2 separate regions of the Homo sapiens genome follow, and region 1 is linked to region 2. Evidence: promoter capture Hi-C in 16 types of primary human blood cells and fetal thymus (Javierre and others, 2016). All regions are on one chromosome and are shown on one strand. The core of a region is centred on a gene start or on the middle of the fragment in contact, and the rest is flanking DNA. Distances in the headings are between cores, read along the strand shown.

Region 1 (3,696 bases), core at 457-2,956, 380 kb before region 2:
TCCCTTGACCAGGTCACTGCTCATTCCCACCCTGCTCGGAGGGAAAGCCAGAAGGAACTGTAGGACAGCCCAGCAGTACCTATGACTCATTCAGCTAAAACAGAATTGAGCAAGTTTAGCTAATCCCTTTCCCACATTTAACACCTGAAATGTGGACTAATTAAAATACCCGTCATTTTTGAAATGGGAAAGTGTATTGTGAATCACCTCGATAGGCAGGATCCATGATTGCTGTATGTGCACAGTAGGGATTCATCATTCCCAAAGAACTGGGCTTCATTAGTGGGACATGGTGGGGCTTCTCTGATGGAGCACAAATTTAGAAAGCATTGTAGAATGCATATTCTTGCTGTGAAGTGCTGGTGACATTCCTCATTTAGGTGATCCCAGACAGGACAGTGGAGTTTTACTTGTTTTAACTGACTGCTGTCTAACCACAGCAAGTAAAGAAATCTAATTTTATCACCTACAGGCTGAAATACCTTTGGCCTTCTAACCACTCCCCAGGGGAAGAAAGCCCTTGGTCAGCTGCATGGCAGTCTATCTATTATTTCATATTATTAATACTGAAAACACCAAGCATAAATATCCTAATGTAATACTTGTTGCTGGGTAGCACAGGGATTATATCAGACTTTCACAATCCCTATGACTAATAGTCTTATTTGTGAAAGACAAACTGGCCAGAAACACACACACCCAACACAAACATGGTTAAGGCTTAAACCCTTAATTATGCTTCCTAGCAAAATGGTGGCTAATGAAAGCCATATGTGCTAGAAGAGTGGCTGCCTCGCAGATTGCGGCTGCCTCACAGATTGCTGCAGCCTCTGCAGGCCCAAGATGGAGGTGTCGGAAGCAGCCAAATCTTTCTGATTGCCAGTCTGTTTCTCCAGGAAGCTTCATTATATCCAGAAAGATCTTACTGGGGAGTATATCCATCCCATCTCATAAGGTACTTTGTTTCCAGGGTGCTGATCCTACTGGTGGATCATTCAGAAAGTTAATCAGGTGCTCCTAAAATGGTTTTTGGAACTTCCAAGTTCTTACTCAGAATTCCAAGCCATAGGAGACAGGTATCTAAGGTGCCAAGCTGATTCCATTGTGCAAAAAATTTCCTCTCTGAAGGGACGTACACATGAAACTAAAAAAACAACATGATGGGGGGTGGGCTTTATACAAAGTTGAGTGGGGTGACAATGGTACAGAGGAAATGGGACTTTGCAATTATATTTTTCTAAGTGGTCTGAACTTGGTCTCACTACCCACATCACCTGGAATGGTTACCAGGCCTCAAAGGACTGCCCCACGGGCTAAACAGCTGATCCGCTCTCTGAAGCCAGACAGTCTTATCTGGGAGGTCCTTTACAGATGCCACTGTTGAGGGCCGGAAGCTGAAGAGAGTGAGCTCCATCCTCAAGTAGTCCTTTATGCTCCTTTTGAACTAGCCTTGCTGTTCTGGGCCGTCATTTGTGATTTGGCCTGGAGTGTCTAGGCGTAAAAAACAAGGACTGTAGGCATTAGTCACAGACGTGTAAGTTCTTAAGGAGTGAATGCTATTTTTGTTTTCTTAATCAAAATAGTGACCACAAAGTCAAATCTGAGATTATAATTTACCTTGGTAATAAAAGATAAAGGAGATTTACAAAAAACAAGGTATGTGTGTGCCTTGGGATGCTTTTCTGGGCTTACCCCATCTGTGTCTTCATAGATTCTCTGTCCTGCCAGCCATGTCTTTGGTCCACAGGAGCCACTTCCCACTTCAACTCTCCCACAACCTCCCCACTGTTTACTCTCTTCATGCCCTGTGCTCTTGCCCCAAATCCCTTCACCCAATTGGGAAAACTGGATGATAGATAAGTAGTTTCTTATTTACATGCATTTCTCTGGAAATTAAAGTTGCTTTCCAGCTAGTATTTCCTCACGTCGGAAGCATGTGTAAAATAACACATGGAAACTATTTCCACCTGGCACATAAGAAAAAAAGGGTCTGCCTATATTGTAACTGACTTCTACACTTTGCATGTTTTAGTCTGACCCACAATTTTTTTTTTTGGATAGTTGAAGTAAAAAACGTGGTTACAAGATGACTAAAGTTTGGCCTACAATTTCCTGTTTGGACAACAGGAAGAATTGTGCAGTGTTTTGCAACAGGACTAATTCTAGATTCTCACTGCCCTTAAAGATAACTAGAGGGAAAGGGTCTTCTCTTTCTTTTTCATTTATTAAAGATACTTACAGGTTCTTCAGAAGAAGTGATGGGTCCTTTAGGTAATGAAATAGGTGTTGATGGTGTTATGGGTGATGATGTAACTGGTGGCGGCTGTATAAAGTCTTCATCCTTAAACATCAGAACTGAGAGTTGGGTTACTGATTTAAAAGAAAATGTGTATTAATCTACAGTCCACTACCTTGACTACCAGGAACTTGTCACAACTACCTCATATCCTGGCACAGGATTCAAAAGGCAAAATCTGGAACCTAATTACGTGTAGCCAAATATTAAGCTTCCTCTTAGATCAAACAGTACAATAAATATTCCTTATTAAGGAACATTATTGTATTGAATTTCAATTTCATTAAGGGGATTAAAACAGGAGAAAATGACCCATTGCTATTTTCATTTTTTAATCTAATTAACCAAATGGAAAGTAACTGTCTAACCTTAGTTCCCTTCAGTTGAGGTGCAAGATCCACCATGTTCTCTTTAGATTCAGTGAAAGTAGGTAATTCCACAAGAATATCAGTCTTTGGAGCCTGGGGAGATAAACATTTTATGTATCATAAGCTTTCTGCTCTTCCTAAAACCCAGAAACTTTTACAGTAGTCAATGCCTTTTTTAGCACTATTTGCTTTCCACTAAATCCCTAACTTCCTCCTCTAGCTACACCCTTTATGAGTAACCTATGAAATATGCCCCTGATGTAGCAACTTAGTATTATTTCTCTTTGAGTTTTGAGTACTTTATATACAAAAGTTGCACTCTGATAGATTCTAGCATTTAAAATAATCATTAGCAATCCACTGATGGCACTGGTCCTGCTGTTGGCCTCAAAAGCCATTTCTCAATTATTTGTTTTTCTTTTTTTCTTTTTTTTGGAGATGGAGTCTCACTCTGTCACCAAGGCTGGAGTGCAGTGGCTCGATCTCGGCTCACTGCAACCTCCACCTCATGGGTTCAAGCAATTCTCCCTGCCTCAGCCTCCTGAGTAGCTGGGATTACAGGCGTCTACTACCATGCCCGGCTACTAATTTTTGTATTTTTAGTAGAGACGGTGTTTCACCATGTTGGCCAAGCTGGTCTTGAACTCCTGACCTCGGGTGATCCACCCACCTCAGCCTCCCAAAGTGCTGGATTACAGGCATGAGCCACTGCTACTGGCCTCAGTTATTTTCTAATAGCATTGATGTAACTTGGTCTATGTTGCATCTTTTTCATTTTTAGTATCTAATAATAAATGATAAAATTGCCTGATTTACTAAAATGGTAAGCTCCTATAACGCAAGGAAGATGGGGAGAGGAGTGGTATTAAAATAGATAACGATAAGAATGGGAGTGGTGATAGAATAGCTAGCTAACCTATCTTTAGGAATTAGATTTGAAAAACATATATCACTGTGCTTTGGAAGTAATTTGTGGACTTTGGAGGGATAAGGCTACATACATCCAAAATTACAGTATATTTGATGTCTCTA
Region 2 (3,678 bases), core at 446-2,945:
GAAGTGCCTATAAACAGTATCCTGGCTTCCAATTTGACCCAACAATCCAGCAATAAAGAGTGCAAAAAAGGGCTACCTGCGCCTTCAGGCCGGCCTCAGGGCCCACCCTGAACAAATCCAGCAGACACTTACACCCTCATTTGAAAGAACTCCAAAATTGTCAGGAATTGTCCTGGTAGACCATTGTGACAGAGACAAAGGAGAACAGCATGGACTACAAAAGACCCAGCAAGGGAAAGAGGATGAGTCGGGAATGGCAACAAGAGCCCCTGCGAGCTTTTCCTTGGCTCATTTCTAATAGAAAAGGAAGCATTTCTCCCTTCTCTGCCTGGTTGCTATTTCTTGTCCAATCTGGGAAAACGGTGTGACAATGGGCAACAGACACGTGTTCAAGCTCTGGGGCCTCAATGCCGGGCTCTGTAGAATAAGACGGCAGGGCTGGACAAGATCCCTAACCGTTCTAACAGTGTATGTTTTGGATCAAACAGCAGAGGACCTCGGATCTGGCCGCGCTCGCTGCTGGTGGGACAGCTGCCTGAGAAAATAAGCATGTGGCCCCCGCCCGCCACCTAGCCAAGCGCCAGGATCTGTCGCGTTTTCTAGTAGTATGGAAAGCAGCGTGGAGGAGAATGAAGGGAGAGGAGCAAAAAGGGGTGGGGGCAGTGCGACAATGAGAGGGGAGGAGAGAGCCACGAGGATTTATTTCATCATGCAAACAGGCGCGTAGGTTTCATCAGCGTCTGTGCGCTGGGGCTCCGGGGCTGGGAGGGAATGCCAGGTTCCTGAGGGCAGCCCGAGGCTGGCCCCCCCACCCGTGCCAGCTCAGCTTCCTCTTCCTCATCCTCTCCCAGGGAGGTCACACGGTGCCTCCTCCTCTCCCCGGACAGAAGAACGTGTTTTTCTGCACAGCCCTGGCCGTGGCGCCAGGGTCCCCCCCGCGGAGATCCCACTCGCGTAAATGGGGAACGTGCCACAGGTGCCCGGGAGGCGCTGCTGGAGCAGGCAAGCACCCCCAGATCCGAACCTCAGTCAGAGCGCGCGAGTCCAACACAAAACTCGGCGTGCTTCGGGAAGGAAAAAGGGCCCTGCAGGAATCGTTTATCCCAACAGATAATACCCATCCCATAAAAACACCAGGCCAGGCCTCTCCTGGATCGTGGGCCACCCTAACTCCGCCCTCTCCCGCTTCGGGAGCGCCCCCAACACCCACAAGGGGCAGCACAGCTCGGCATGTGGCTGTCCTGGAGGCGTGCGTGTTTGTTAGGTGTCAGCTGTCTGACACCTAACAGAAAGAGGAAACAAACGGGGCAGTTTGTAACTCGGGTCTGGAAGACGCACTCAGAGGGGAAGCGGGCGGCCACTTCCATGACCCTCGCTGTCTCTCCGATGCCCCTTTTCCGTTCTTTCCAATCACGGCGCCCTTGAGCCTGGACACCCGGTCCAATCCGCGATTCCCGATCCTCCCGCCCGCCCAGGAGCCGGCAAGCGGCGTCGCCAAGCCCGCGCCTACCTCCCGGGGTGGTGCTGAAGAGCGTGCCGCCGGGGGTCGTGCTGTAGTCCCCGGGCGGGAGCTGCACGCCGTCGCCGAGCACCACCCGGCGAGTGGCGGGGATGGCCCGGCTTGGGGTCTGGCTGCAGCTGCTGCCCCCGGACATGGTCTCCTGTGCGCTGCACCCGCGAACCTCTCGCTGCCCTCCCGCGCCTCCAGCCTCGCTCCGCCTCGCCCCGTGCCGCCCCGCCCCAGGACGCCCCTTCCGCCTCTCCCGCCCCACGCCCCTGGGATTTGTAGTCCGCGCCGCAGCCCCACCCAGCTCCAGGACGCTGCTTCCACGTGGGATCCCCCGCCGCCCCCCGACCCACTCCCGTCTGCTCACGGGCTCTTCCGCACGGGCGCTGGCGCCGCCCCGCAGCGACTGCCCCTCCGTCCGGGGTCCCTCCCCGCCACGCTGGCAGGGACGGATATGGGGATGGCGGGCGGGATAGCTCGCCTAAATTAATCCTTGGCTGGGTTGGGGGCGGCGACTCAGGACCGCGCGGAGATCCGAGCTGACCCGGCCCACTGCAGGAAGGCCCGGTTTCTGCATTAGGACATCAGGCCTGGTGTACCCTTCGGCACTCCCTGTTTCGTGCCTTAGTTCCTCAGATGAGAAAATGGGGATTGAGTAGTTATGCTCACCGCCCCCCGCCCCGCTTCAATTTCTTGACCTTGATGGGGGTGGGGGTGGAGGGGCTAACAATTCCGTTCCCGGCCTTTAGAGAGGGTGTGGGAGGAGGAGTGAACCAACCAGCGGCGTCCTGGGAGCTAAATTTAGAGCTGGGGGCGCAGAGGTGGGTGGTGGGGAAGGGCGTTGGAGAGGAGTAAGAGTGTCGAAGAGGTTTCCCGATAGCCCCTGAATTGAGTCCAACGTCCACCTGAGGTTTAGTAGGTACTCCTTGGATGGATGGATGGATGGATGGATGGATGGATGGATGGATGGATGTTCAAGGGGAGAGAGAAAAATGCAAGAAGGACCGAGGATGGAAAAGCTTGTTGGGTTTGAGAAGTTCTTAGCATTATGGGCACATATTGTGGGGAAGAGGGTGAAGAGGGGAGGGCAGTTTAAAAGGGAAATTGGGTGGTGCACCTGTAATCCCAGCTACTCAGGAAGCTGAGGCTGGAGGATGCTTGAGCCCAGGGGTTTGAGGCTCCAGTGAGCTGTGATCACACCACTGCACTCCACCCTTTGTGACAGAGACCCTATCTCTAAAAAAATATATAATAATTTTTTAAAAAGGAAATTGGGGTCAGGTCGTTGAGTTTTTCAAATTATGCCAAAGTGCTTGGACTTTGTCTTAGAAGGGCAGGAGATATCAGAGATCTTTTAAGCAGGGGGATGACATGATTTGAGTTGTTTTTTGGAAGGATAACTAGTAGCCAGTGGAGTTTCAGAATGGGCCAAGGAGGGCAAGGCCTGAGATAGGGAGACCTGTTGAGTTTGGTCTCACTTTTGAGGGAAACTTTAGGCCTACAGTGGCTAAGACAGTAGCCACCAGCTACAGGTGCACATTGAGCACTCCAAATGTGACCAGTCCAAACTGTCACAAGTTTAACATACACACCATATTTCAAAGACTTAGTGTGAAGAAAATCATGTAAAATACCTGAATAATTTGTTTCTATATTGATTGTATGTTGAACTGATAATATTTTGAGTATACTGGGTTAAGAAAAATACATTATAAAAATTAATTTTGGGCCAGGCGCAGTGGCTCACGCCTGTAATCCCAACACGTTGGGAGGCCGAGGCAGGCGGATCATGAGGTCAAGAGATCGAGACCATCCTGGACAACATGGTGAAACCCTGTCTCTACTAAAAATATAAAAAAAATTAGCTGGGCATGGTGGCGCATGCCTGTAGTCCCAGCTACTCGGGAGGCTGAGGCAGGAGAATTGCTTGAACCTGGGAGGCAGAGGTTGCAGTGAGCTGAAATCATGCCACTGCACTCCAGCCTGGCGTCAGAGCAAGACTCTGTCTCAAAAGAAAAAAAAATAAATTTCGGCTGGGTGCAGTGGCTCACGCCTGTAATCCCACCACTTTGGGAGGCCTAGGCGGGTGGATCATGAGGTCAGGAGTTCAAGACCAGCCTGGCCAAGATGGTGAAACCCTGTCTCTACTAAAAATACAAAAAAACAAAACA

The links. Contacts are between HindIII fragments. The CHiCAGO score rates a contact against its expected background, and 5 or more counts as called.
Region 1: a fragment that was not itself captured here is called in contact with the fragment with the promoter of EIF4EBP1 in region 2 in 2 of 17 cell types (erythroblasts and total B cells); the score reaches 5.8 in erythroblasts.

Annotation. Positions count from the first base shown.
Region 1 is chr8:38,406,007-38,409,702 of GRCh38, reverse strand. It overlaps LETM2 (leucine zipper and EF-hand containing transmembrane protein 2), which reads right to left. Exons shown (of 11, transcript NM_001286819.2): 9 at 2,665-2,757; 10 at 2,240-2,341; 11 at 176-1,491. The coding sequence ends at 1,429. The region is part of intron 1 of LOC102723716 (a long non-coding RNA gene); the gene reads left to right. Among named protein-coding and RNA genes, the nearest start is that of LETM2, 21 kb to the right of the region's middle. The HindIII fragment of the contact is 1,607 bases long and covers 903-2,509 here.
Region 2 is chr8:38,028,551-38,032,228 of GRCh38, reverse strand. EIF4EBP1 (eukaryotic translation initiation factor 4E binding protein 1) reads right to left here and starts at 1,695. Exons shown (of 3, transcript NM_004095.4): 1 at 1,511-1,695. The coding sequence starts at 1,655. RefSeq lists enhancers at 875-974, 1,604-1,898 and a silencer at 1,475-1,914. The HindIII fragment of the contact is 5,036 bases long and covers 1-2,528 here.